2 separate regions of the Homo sapiens genome follow, and region 2 is linked to region 1. The links are contacts of gene promoters, found by promoter capture Hi-C in human tissues and cell types (Jung and others, 2019). All regions are on one chromosome and are shown on one strand. The core of a region is centred on a gene start or on the middle of the fragment in contact, and the rest is flanking DNA. Distances in the headings are between cores, read along the strand shown.

Region 1 (5,326 bases), core at 2,714-5,213:
GCCCCCTTTTTGGGGGAAATCAGGCTTTTGACTAAGTGTGACATAAGCGTCTCCAGAATTCCTCATTATCTGTTGACAGCTGGTCTGCAGCCATTAACAGCAAGCTTGTAGAATAACCCCAAGTGATCTGAGTGCTTTGGAAACATCCAGAAAAATGTGCTAGGCATAACCATAGTTAATAAAATTGTGTTTATAACCATATTGATATGACTTGTCATTTATTACGTGCCAGGTACTCCTTAACATTTTGCACACAAAAACTTCAAAAACGACTCAATGGGACCAAAGACTTCCAACAACCCTAGGAGTGAGTTTGGACTCACTTAACTCAGCCAAGCCTTCATATGAGATGGCAACCACAGCCAACTGTTAAACTACAACCTCATGAGAGGCTTTGAGCCAGAAGCTCTGAGCTAAGCCACTCCCAGATTTCTGCCCCACAAACACTATGAGATAATAAATGATGTTTCAAGGTGCAAACAAATCCCTCAGAACAATAATTCAGTGGGGTAGGTACTGCTATCATGTCACACAGATAAAGAAACTGAGCCACAGAGGAATAAAGCAACTTGTCCAAGGTCACTCAGAAAAGAAATGGTAAAGCCTGGACCCAATCCAGGTAGTCTGTCTCCAGAGCCCACACTTTGCAGCTTCCTCCCATTATGCTGTGGTATCTCCTGAAATTTTAATGCCACTTTTGGAGCCAAGACCCATACCCTGTACTTTTTCAGACATCCCACAGAATTCAGAAGTCAAAGTTGTAAAAGTCCCAGGAGAGGCAGACAGTTTGGTCATAATTAGTACTATTGGCCAAGAAGCTCTTAGAAGAAAATCAGGGTTTCCCAAAGAACACCATGCCTACCCACTGAGGACATGTTAGATGACTTCGAACATACGTGAGCAAACATGTTTACTTTCATAACTGTGTATTTTTAAAATCTGTGTCAGATAAACATTACGTTAATATGCATGTGTGCTAGATGAGGTAATTAGTATAATTATCTAAGTAATTATGAGAAATATCAACAATATATCTGAACAAATGATACTATATGTATTATTTTATTTTTTTATATATATATAAATTACAGAGCCATGATTCAATGCAGATAGTTATTCTTTTATTTATTTACTGGTCTATTCTTCAACAAATATTTATTGAGCACCTAATATGGCCCAGACACCATTCACAAAAAAACACAGAAATAAAAATCCCTACCCTCTCGTAGTTTACATTCTAATAGGGAATAATACAGTATATTACTAATATACAATACAGTACACATTATAGTATAGCATGCCACATTAAGCAATGTTATATTATCCCATAGTATATTATTCATATTAATTTTATATATAGTATATAGAAAAATAGAACATGGTATGAGAGGGGATGGTAATAGAGAGGTGAGAGTTTTAATGTTTCTTTTTAAATTAAAAATTATTATAAATAAAGTTGAAGTCTTTGTTTTACTAAAAAAATTAAGAATTTGTTTTCGTTTCCTTCATATGGGTCCATTATCTTTACCATGTCAATTTTCATTTATGTTTTGCTGAAGTCAGAGAAACATTTCATTAAAAAATGAATAAATAGCAAATCAAGTAAATCATAAATAATTAAAGCAAATAAGGGAAAACTATTATTAAATAATGATAACAGTGCTGCCTGGACGTGACCAAAAACAAATGAGTAAGTTGTATTTGAATGGTTAAACTGGATACTTCTTCAGATAGGAAACACCAAACTTTTCTCTTACCAATTGACTCTTGACCAGCTGTTTTATGTTGATGGGAGGAGAGGAAAAACTAGAATCACCCACCCCTAGACATTTGGCTCCTAGCGCTAAGGATGAAATGCTGTCCCGAGGACAGTGTGGAGGGTTCTGTCATCTAGTGTGTCATAACTTCTACAGCCTGCAGCTTCCTGGTCTGCTTACTTACAAGAACATCTCTGCAGAGAAAGCAGAAGATAAAATACAGGAATACAAAAAGAAGCGAGATGATCACATCCCATTCCTTTATGTTACACATTACACATAGGTGATGCTGACTTGGAAGTGTGTGCAGGTTGTGTGGCTGCTGAGACTTTGACAGAAGGCAGGGGACACTAGCTGCACAAAGGAGGTTGCAGGCTTTCCCACCAAGTGGATGGAAAGCCAGTGTCACGTGCTGGGGAACTGCTGCAACTCTTTCCTCATCACCTAGTTATCTTCAAGCCAGTTTTATTAGAAGAAGCCCCTGACATTAAGAGTGACACCATGCAGGAAAAAGTCTTCTCATGTTTTAATATTAGTTACTTACAAATGAGTAACAAGTAACTGTAGCTACATTTATTGAACATTTCCTATCTGCTAAAGACCGTACATTTTACACACGTCATCTAGTTTAATTTTTGTAATGACTCATGAGGTTCTGTGATTATTTCTTTTTACAGATGAAGAAACATAGATTTGAGGAAGTTAATAAATATGTTCCAGATTATACCTATAGTAAATACTGGCGCTAGGAATGGAGCCTAGATCGTCTGACTCTGGAACTTGTGTTAAACCCATTTGAACCTGTAAATAACTCTGTGGATTAAGAACAAAGATTATTTCCATTTTATGGAGGAGTGGCAGAAAAGTGTGGTGGTTAGGAGAGCAAATGTAAGTGTTAGAAGAGTCCATTTTGATTCCGGTTCTGTCGTTTATCAGTTGTGAATTTGGGAAATGTATCTAACTCCTCTGAGATTTACAATGTCCTCAAATATCAAGATGTAGAGAACACTTAATCTCTTAGGGCCTCTCTGTCTTTGCCATCATCATCATGGTTATTACGTACTTTGGATTTTCTCATCTTAATTTTTTCTCCTACCTGAAATTGCCATGTTATTCCCCTTAAACCCTTAGATTAAGAGATGGCTGCAATGTACTACTATGCTGCTAATAGTAAATATTTATTGTACACTTACTATATGCCAAGTGCTTTTAGTGCATTATCTCATTCAATCTTTACAACCCCTCCACGAGATAAATACTGGTGTCATCTATAATTTATAGTTAGAAACAGAACTCGCCTAGAACTGGACATTGCTGATTTCACTTCCCCCTTTTCCTGCCCACCACCCTGACTGCCAACTGACTTCGGAACTCCAAAAAGGCATCCATGAAAACGACAGGAATTGCCTGCAGGAAATTGAATGCTCCAGGAGTTTGACACTAAAAAGATTGGGAACTGTCCACCAACTTGTGCTACCGAGAATAGTGGTTGTTGAAAGGAATTTCGGTCTCTATCCAAACTTACTTTTCCTCAGGGATGTGTCAATTACCTCCAAGTCCTGTTCAGAAGGGTAGCTGGAAAAACAGTGAAACCAAGTAACTCACCTGAGAACAAGCCGGGAGTAGTGCAAAGGAATCAACCAGACTCTTAATTTATTACAAAGTCCAGCCACTCCGTTTGCTTTCTAAAAACCTTGTTGCCTGGTATTGAGTAAAAGATGCTATAAAGGACGAACACGTTTGGAAGTAATAATAATCTGCTATTATGCGACATAATTTTCTCCACATTTGTTGTTATTTTTCTGATAATAAATTTCATACTTTTTATTGGAAAACCACAGAAAATGCAAAAAATAGCTAAGCCGTTGGTATGTTTCTATCTAGATTTCAATTAAATTTTAATTATTCTCTCCCCGTGCCTAGCCCCCCTTGCCCCATTTTTAAAAAGACCTGGAGTTCAGGGTAGGAGACATCAAGAGCATCCTAGAGGGCAGCAGCACAAATTCACTCCCCTCCAGACCCTGCAGCTTGCTTCGCCCATCTCCCCTCCCCCTGAGCTTGGTCGCTTATCATTGGTCATTGCCATGGCAACCAGCAGCTGCCGGGCCAGCAGCCTCTACCGCAGCAGGGGTGGGGCACTGGGGGAGGGGGAGAGAGAGAGGAGGAGCCAGAGGAGGTGTCTGCTGCAAGTTCCTGGCTGCTTCCGAGCTCACCCCATCCTCCGAGAGGGAGGAGGCCCAACTGGTGATGCTGCTGCTGCTGCTGCTGCCGCCGCCGCCGCCTCTATTGCTGATACTCTAGTGGGGCTGGAAGGGTGGTTCCTATTCGCACCATCGCCAACCAGAGACAGAGGGAAAAAAAAAACCGGCAGCCACTGCTGATGTTGGGTTCGGAGGCTGCATCCGACTCGGTCACAAGGAAAATGGATTCAGTTTGCATCTCTCCCTCCTTTAAACAGCTTCTCCGGGTCTCAGCATGGTGAGTAGGAAACAGTAGGGCTCCCTTCTTGGTTTAGAGTGTTCTTATTTGACCTGTGTATACATTTCTGGCCTGAACTTGAACAATGACTCCCGTGCCTCAGACTAGAAGGGGGAGATGTGGAGACAGAGATGAGGATGGAGGGAGAGGAAGCTTGCCAGGAAGAGAGAAGTGAGAAGACAACCTCTTGTGTTTAAAAAAAAAAAATGGTGTTCTGATTTTATCTCTAACTGGCTCAGAATGCAGACTGAGCCACTTGGTGCCTTTTTTCCTAAGCTTAGCAACAGCATCAGGGGTTGGAAAAAGAGCTAACAACAAGAAGAGGGTGTTATTGAAAGGAATCATTTCATTTGCAGCTCTCACATACAGGGTTGGGCCTTCTTCAGAAATACATTTGGTGTCTCATAAGCTTACCAGACTCATTATAAGGTGGTTTTGCTTATTTTATTGATTGCTTAGAAAAAGTGGCCCCAGAATTTGACATTTTATTTTATATTCTAATATACTCTTGTTGAGAAATCATTTGCAAGACCCAGTTTTATTTTATACGTAGATTTGACTGTGAACTTACACATGTATATCTTATGGATATACAGATCATATATACACATGTCACTTAGCATTTATATTGCATTTATGAAGCATATTTATATGTAGGGTGTGCTTTGCAACCATTTTTATGGGTTACATATGTCCTTGCATGCCTGGAAGTAATTGCATGTTTTTGAAACTATGCTTCTGGTTTATATTATTATTCATTGGCTTTATTTGGATTAATGTGAAATTTACTCTGGTTATTGTCCCTTAGTTTCATTGTGACCGATTGGAACAGATGCCTATCGTTTGATCTGTGTCATAGAACTAGATGCAAATTTGTAGCCTGCCTCTTTATTTTTAATTGGGTTTGTGGGGGATGATATTGAGGACTCTGAATTTACAATGATGGGAATGGGAGGCGGTTTGTGGTATTATTTTGTGTCTAGCATCTTACCAAATCAATGTTGAAGCAAATCAGTTTTCTTGAAATGCCACCCCAACCTTTTCATGTTTGTGCCTTGTGTCCCAGGAAGCACAGCTAAGCTGGAAGGTGA
Region 2 (5,287 bases), core at 2,772-5,271, 170 kb after region 1:
ACTTACTGACATTTGCTTTATGTCAGTAACTAAACTAAGGACTCTACTTACATCATTTCATTTAATCTTCATAATAGCCCTATGAGGTAAGTATTTTTATTATCTCAATTTTGGAGATAACAATACTGTAGATAAGAATGCTTAAGTGATTTGCCCAAGATAACACAGATGGTAAGCAACAGTCAGGATGACAGCCTAGGTCTGCTGAACTCCAAGGTCAGTGTGTCTAACCACTGTATTGTACCGTCATCCATGACTTATGTGATTCATCAGCAAGGTCCAAAATAGGCACCCACTACTAATTTCCAGCAAAAATTTTTAATTGTAACTCTTTATTCATGCCATAGCCTGACAGTTGAGGGCTGAGGTCCTGGTCAAAATACAGATTCAATAAGGATTCCAGCATTGAAAGTGTCAGGTTATAGTATTCAATCCTCAGAAGCTATAAGAAACAACTGGTACAAAATTCAGATGGTATGAATAGGCGGTAAGAATCGTGTGGTCATCAGCAATCAAGGTAAGTGGAAAAGAGGCAGGGGTTCTTTTATGAGGCAAATAAAAACAATTCATGGGGGACATGACACTTAGCACACTTCAGATGCAGGCAGGAGCTTTGTGGATTTTATAGGCTAATAGATTACCCAAGTAGGTGGAGAATTCTGAAGCCACGTGTCCCAGAAATGATAAATACCTACATGTTCCTATTAATGCCCCTTCAGATTCCATCACAAAAGTTTGAGTTTTGACCCATGGAAAGACTTCTTAAAGTCTTTAATAATAGACTCTATGCCATCATTGCATTGCTTCATGCATTCTTTTCTTCTAGCAGGGGATAAAAATGTACTCTGCACAAATTTCTTGTGCTGCAATAGCATGTAATTACTTTCAACAAATTGGGAGTTATGTCATGGAAACACTGAAGTGTTTACTTTTAAGATGGACTCATAGTTATCTAAATTTATTTATGATAAAAACTGTATTCCATTTGAGTATTTCTTTAACCATTTAGCTAAGATACTTCACCTCTGAAAGAGTTGGTTTTGTTTAAGTTATCCAGTAGTGCTGATAGTACATTTCTGAACCTCAGGGAGTTTCATTGACATTTTCCATCCATCTTCTAAACAAATGTTCATTAGAATATGCCTTTCCCAGTTATTTCTTACTCTTCTTCTTCCCTTTTAATTAATAGCTGAGTTTCATAGAATTATTCCAGAAGATATTGGCCAGGATTTTTTATATATAACTATGTAATACACTCTAACTTCTAAAGTATATCACTAACCATGTATTACACCGTTCTGCTTGAATGTTTAAGAGTGAACTGATGCGTTCTTATCCTTACTTCTCTTCTCTCTCCCCATCTGCCTGTCTTAGTCAGTAGAATTACCATATCTCAAATCACTCCGGCTAGAAACACTGGAGTCTTCTCTGTTCTTTCCCTGTAAGCATTAATACAGCACCACATCCAACTGGCATTTCCCCTGAAATGTTTTTGATACTGGTCCATTTTGTTCATTTTTGTCACCCCAGGCACGTGCAGGACCTTTCATTATTCCACCAGCTTCCAGGTACTGCCAAATGTTCTCTGTGTGAATCTGACTCCATCATCTATGCATTTATTCAGTCAAACTTTTAAATGTTTTTCCTAGGTGCTAAGTACTGTGCTAGACAGAGAATTCACCGTGGACCCTGCCTTCACAAAACGAAGGACCCATAGATGGTTATAAAATGATCAACACAAAGAAAAATAATTATGATATATCATAATAAATAGCATTTTTAAAAGTACATGCAGGTGCCATGAGGACCTAGTTCTAGCTCTCCCCTTTTCAATCCAACACACATCTCATCACAGATTCTTCTCATTTTTCCTCATGGTACATTCTTGCCTCAAAGCCTCCATGATCCAATTTCCAGTTGAGTAGAGTCTTACGCAGGTCTCTTCAGGTCCTTCAGTAGCTGACTACCCCGCCCTCCAAAACCAGATTTGACCCAACCCCAGAGCATACTTCCCTCTCCACTCATGCAAAACATCCTGGTCCCACTTGTGCTGTGATTTTCCACCTCTAAGCCCTTGTTGCATAATTGCTCATCCTAAAGTGTCCATTAGTTTCCATTGCATTGATCCAAGTGTTCTCATTTTTCCAGTCCCAGTTTAAGATCCAACCCATTCAGGATCCTCTCCCTGATGAAAATTTTAAAAATGAACCACATACTGCTCAAGATATCTACATTCTATATTCTGTTATGCACTCATTCACAACCATTTATTGAGGGCCTGCTGTGTACCAGGTGCTGGGAGTATAATGGTAAGCAAAGACATACAGATCACTACTCTCATCTATCTCACAGAGGGACAGGGGCAGAGCCACAGAACAAATGAACAATGACTGAGGCAATTTCTGAGAGTGGCAATAAGTGCTATGCAGAAACGTATACAATGTGTATGTGAGTTTGGGAGTAGGATTGGCCACTTTAGGTTGGCTGGTCAGAGGAGGCCTCTCTGAAGATACCTACGATCCAAGAAATGAGCCACACAAAGATCTTGGCCAAGTGTCCCAGAAGACAGGGACAGCAAGGGCTAAGTCCCTATCATGGGAATAAGTTTGGAATAGTCAAGGAACAGAGCAAAGGCTAGAATGTCAGGAGCACGCAGAGCCAGAGTGAGGTTGATAGGAGGAGACGTTGCAGAGCTAAGAAAGGGCCACATCACACAGGGCTTTGCAGGAGTTTGAGTTTTATTCTGAGTACAACTCAACTAACTCTTCCTTCTTTTCTTCCCCACCCGCTTAAACTCAGGGGACCATGGAGATCATTTTTACATTCTGAGAGTTCACAATGGCTGCTATTGATGGAGTAAGATGGTCAAAATAAAAGGCAGGAAGAGCAGGTAGAAGCTGCCACACCAGCCCTGACAAGGGAAGACAATGACTTGGTGAACTTGGTATCAGTAGAGATAAAAAGAAGTAGGTAGAAAAGGAATGTTTTAGATCCAGCAAGGTTTTCTGTTGGGTGGATGGCAAAGGGATGGGAAGCAAAAAGAAATCAAGTATACGTCATATGATGTAGCATAACACATTTATTTGACAAAAAAATATGTGTGGACACCTTCTCCATGCTTAACACTGCACTAGGAATTGGAGATGGGTGACAAAGTTATTCAGTTTTTTTCCATTGTTTACCTTTTCTATTTAGTTTTGCTATTCCATCTGGATCTGATAGTTCTTTGAAACTGGGAACTAACTGGTGCCTTATCTGTATTGTCCATTACATTCAGCAGAGTCATGAGCATGTAAGGAGGTGCCCAACAAGCATAGATGTGATGGCTGAATGGATACTGCAGTAATTTTACATATTCATGATTTTGTCCATATAGTACTTGCCTCCATATCCAGCAGACATGCCAAGGAATTACGTGAACACTCAAGGTGGAAATATCTAGCAAATTTATTCTTTTACTGTGTAGCTATGGAGCACTGACAGCACTATGGAAATATACACCAGCACACAAATCATACACGTATAAACACACCATCAACATTCCAGTTCCATCCCTTTCTCCGGCATTCATTATGGTATAATTTCAAGGTTAACCTTTATGGTCTCACTCTGACCAAAACACACCATCTCTTGTTGCACAAACCTTAGCCCCCTTACTTTAAAGAAGAGTTTCTCAATTTCAGCACTACTGAAATTTTGAAGCAGATAATTCTTTATTCTTTTTTAGGGGGAGGGGTGGCTGTTCTGTGCCTTATCGAATGTTTAGTAGCATTCCTGGCTTCTACTCAGTAGATGCTAGATGCACATACTCCCAGTTGTGACAGTACAAAAATGTCAAGACATTTAGATAGTGGTGATGGTTGCACAATTTTATGAATATACTAAAACCACTGAATTACACAACTTAAAATAAATAAACATATTAACTAACTTTAAAAAAATGTGCAGAACTGCCAAATGTCCCTGGCTGGGGCAGGGAGAGACAAACAGTTGAGATCTACTCTTTTAAAGAGAAGGAGATATGCTTTCCAAGTTCAAGTACCCCTTGTTCTAGCTTCCCTTTTTTTCTCCTACCATTGCATTATAAAAACCTCTCTTTCTATATTATCATCCCATTTGGCTTCTAGTGTTTTCTCCATAGACTCCATTTCTCTATTTTCTAATTATTCCCTACAGAGGTATTAAATAAGAAGCCTGCATTATATAACCATGTACATGAACACAAAAAAACCTTCAGATTGCCAGATATAAATGTGAAGACTTTATTTTACTTGTAAATAGTTGTTATGTAATGTTGATTTCAAATATTCGGTGTTTAAATTAGTGGAATTTTGTTACATAATTGAGAGGTAAGTTCAAAGACAGTCTTGGAACTTTTCATCTTTAGGATTACTTGTGTTATGTTTGTTATATTCTGGTGTTTTCCTAATTTACCAGTTCCCTCCTGGGAATGTTTGTTGATGTGTAATCTCTACTTTGTTTTGTGAATTTACCAATTCTATTTTGTGAGAAAATTCTATCCTGAAACAGGGTTGAAATGGGGTTAAGATAAAAAGGTTAAGAAAGAACAATTGGATTGTTTACATCTATATGAGTCAGCCTCAACCATCTTTAATGTGGTAACAAACAATCAAAATCTCAATCCAAATGGTTCATAACAAAGCTTGTTTCTTGCTGTCTACTTCTGAGATATACTACACCCTCTACAAGGATTTGATATTCCCAAATCTTATTCCAACTTGCATTCCACAGGCCAAAACAAGTCTCTTTGCCAAACTCAATGTCAGTGGTGTGGAATCTACACCTCACTAGGAAGGGGTCTACAGGGATAGGCTCAGTAGAAAAGGTGGCAAATATTTTTTGAAAAGTTAATCAGTAGCAATGATTTTCTACCACAAACATAGATAATTTCTGAAACATGCAACATGTTTTTGGGTGGGGAAAACATACATGCGATGTTTCCAGCTGCTTGTACAAATATTCAGGTTTGTATAGGAAGTTTCGTGTTTTCATTTGGTAAATTATTTTTCCGCACAACTTACCACCTACTGATGCTTTCTTTCTTTTCTTTTCTTTCTTCAGAGAATTCGTGACTTAGAAGATAAAACAGACATCCAGAAAAGACAAATAAAAGACTTAGAAGAAAAGGTAGGTGTCAAATTCAATAACTATCTTATTATTTGTTTAATCAGAAAGCAATATTGATTTTGCTCACTGTATTTTCTTCCTGGCTTCTCAGTTATTGTGTGTCTTGCAGAGGCAGGTATAGTTACAGTAAACCTAGCTT

The links. Contacts are between HindIII fragments. The study calls those that stand out against the background at their distance.
Region 2: a fragment that was not itself captured here is called in contact with the fragment with the promoter of JAKMIP2 in region 1 in 1 of the 25 tissues and cell types used here (hippocampus).

The regions. Positions count from the first base shown.
Region 1 is chr5:147,781,365-147,786,690 of GRCh38, reverse strand. JAKMIP2 (janus kinase and microtubule interacting protein 2) reads left to right here and starts at 3,963. Exons shown (of 22, transcript NM_001270941.2): 1 at 3,963-4,235. The HindIII fragment of the contact is 11,129 bases long and covers 1-5,326 here.
Region 2 is chr5:147,612,167-147,617,453 of GRCh38, reverse strand. JAKMIP2 (janus kinase and microtubule interacting protein 2) reads left to right here. Exons shown (of 22, transcript NM_001270941.2): 20 at 5,083-5,148. The region is part of intron 3 of JAKMIP2-AS1 (JAKMIP2 antisense RNA 1); the gene reads right to left. Among named protein-coding and RNA genes, the nearest start is that of JAKMIP2-AS1, 55 kb to the right of the region's middle. The HindIII fragment of the contact is 7,560 bases long and covers 242-5,287 here.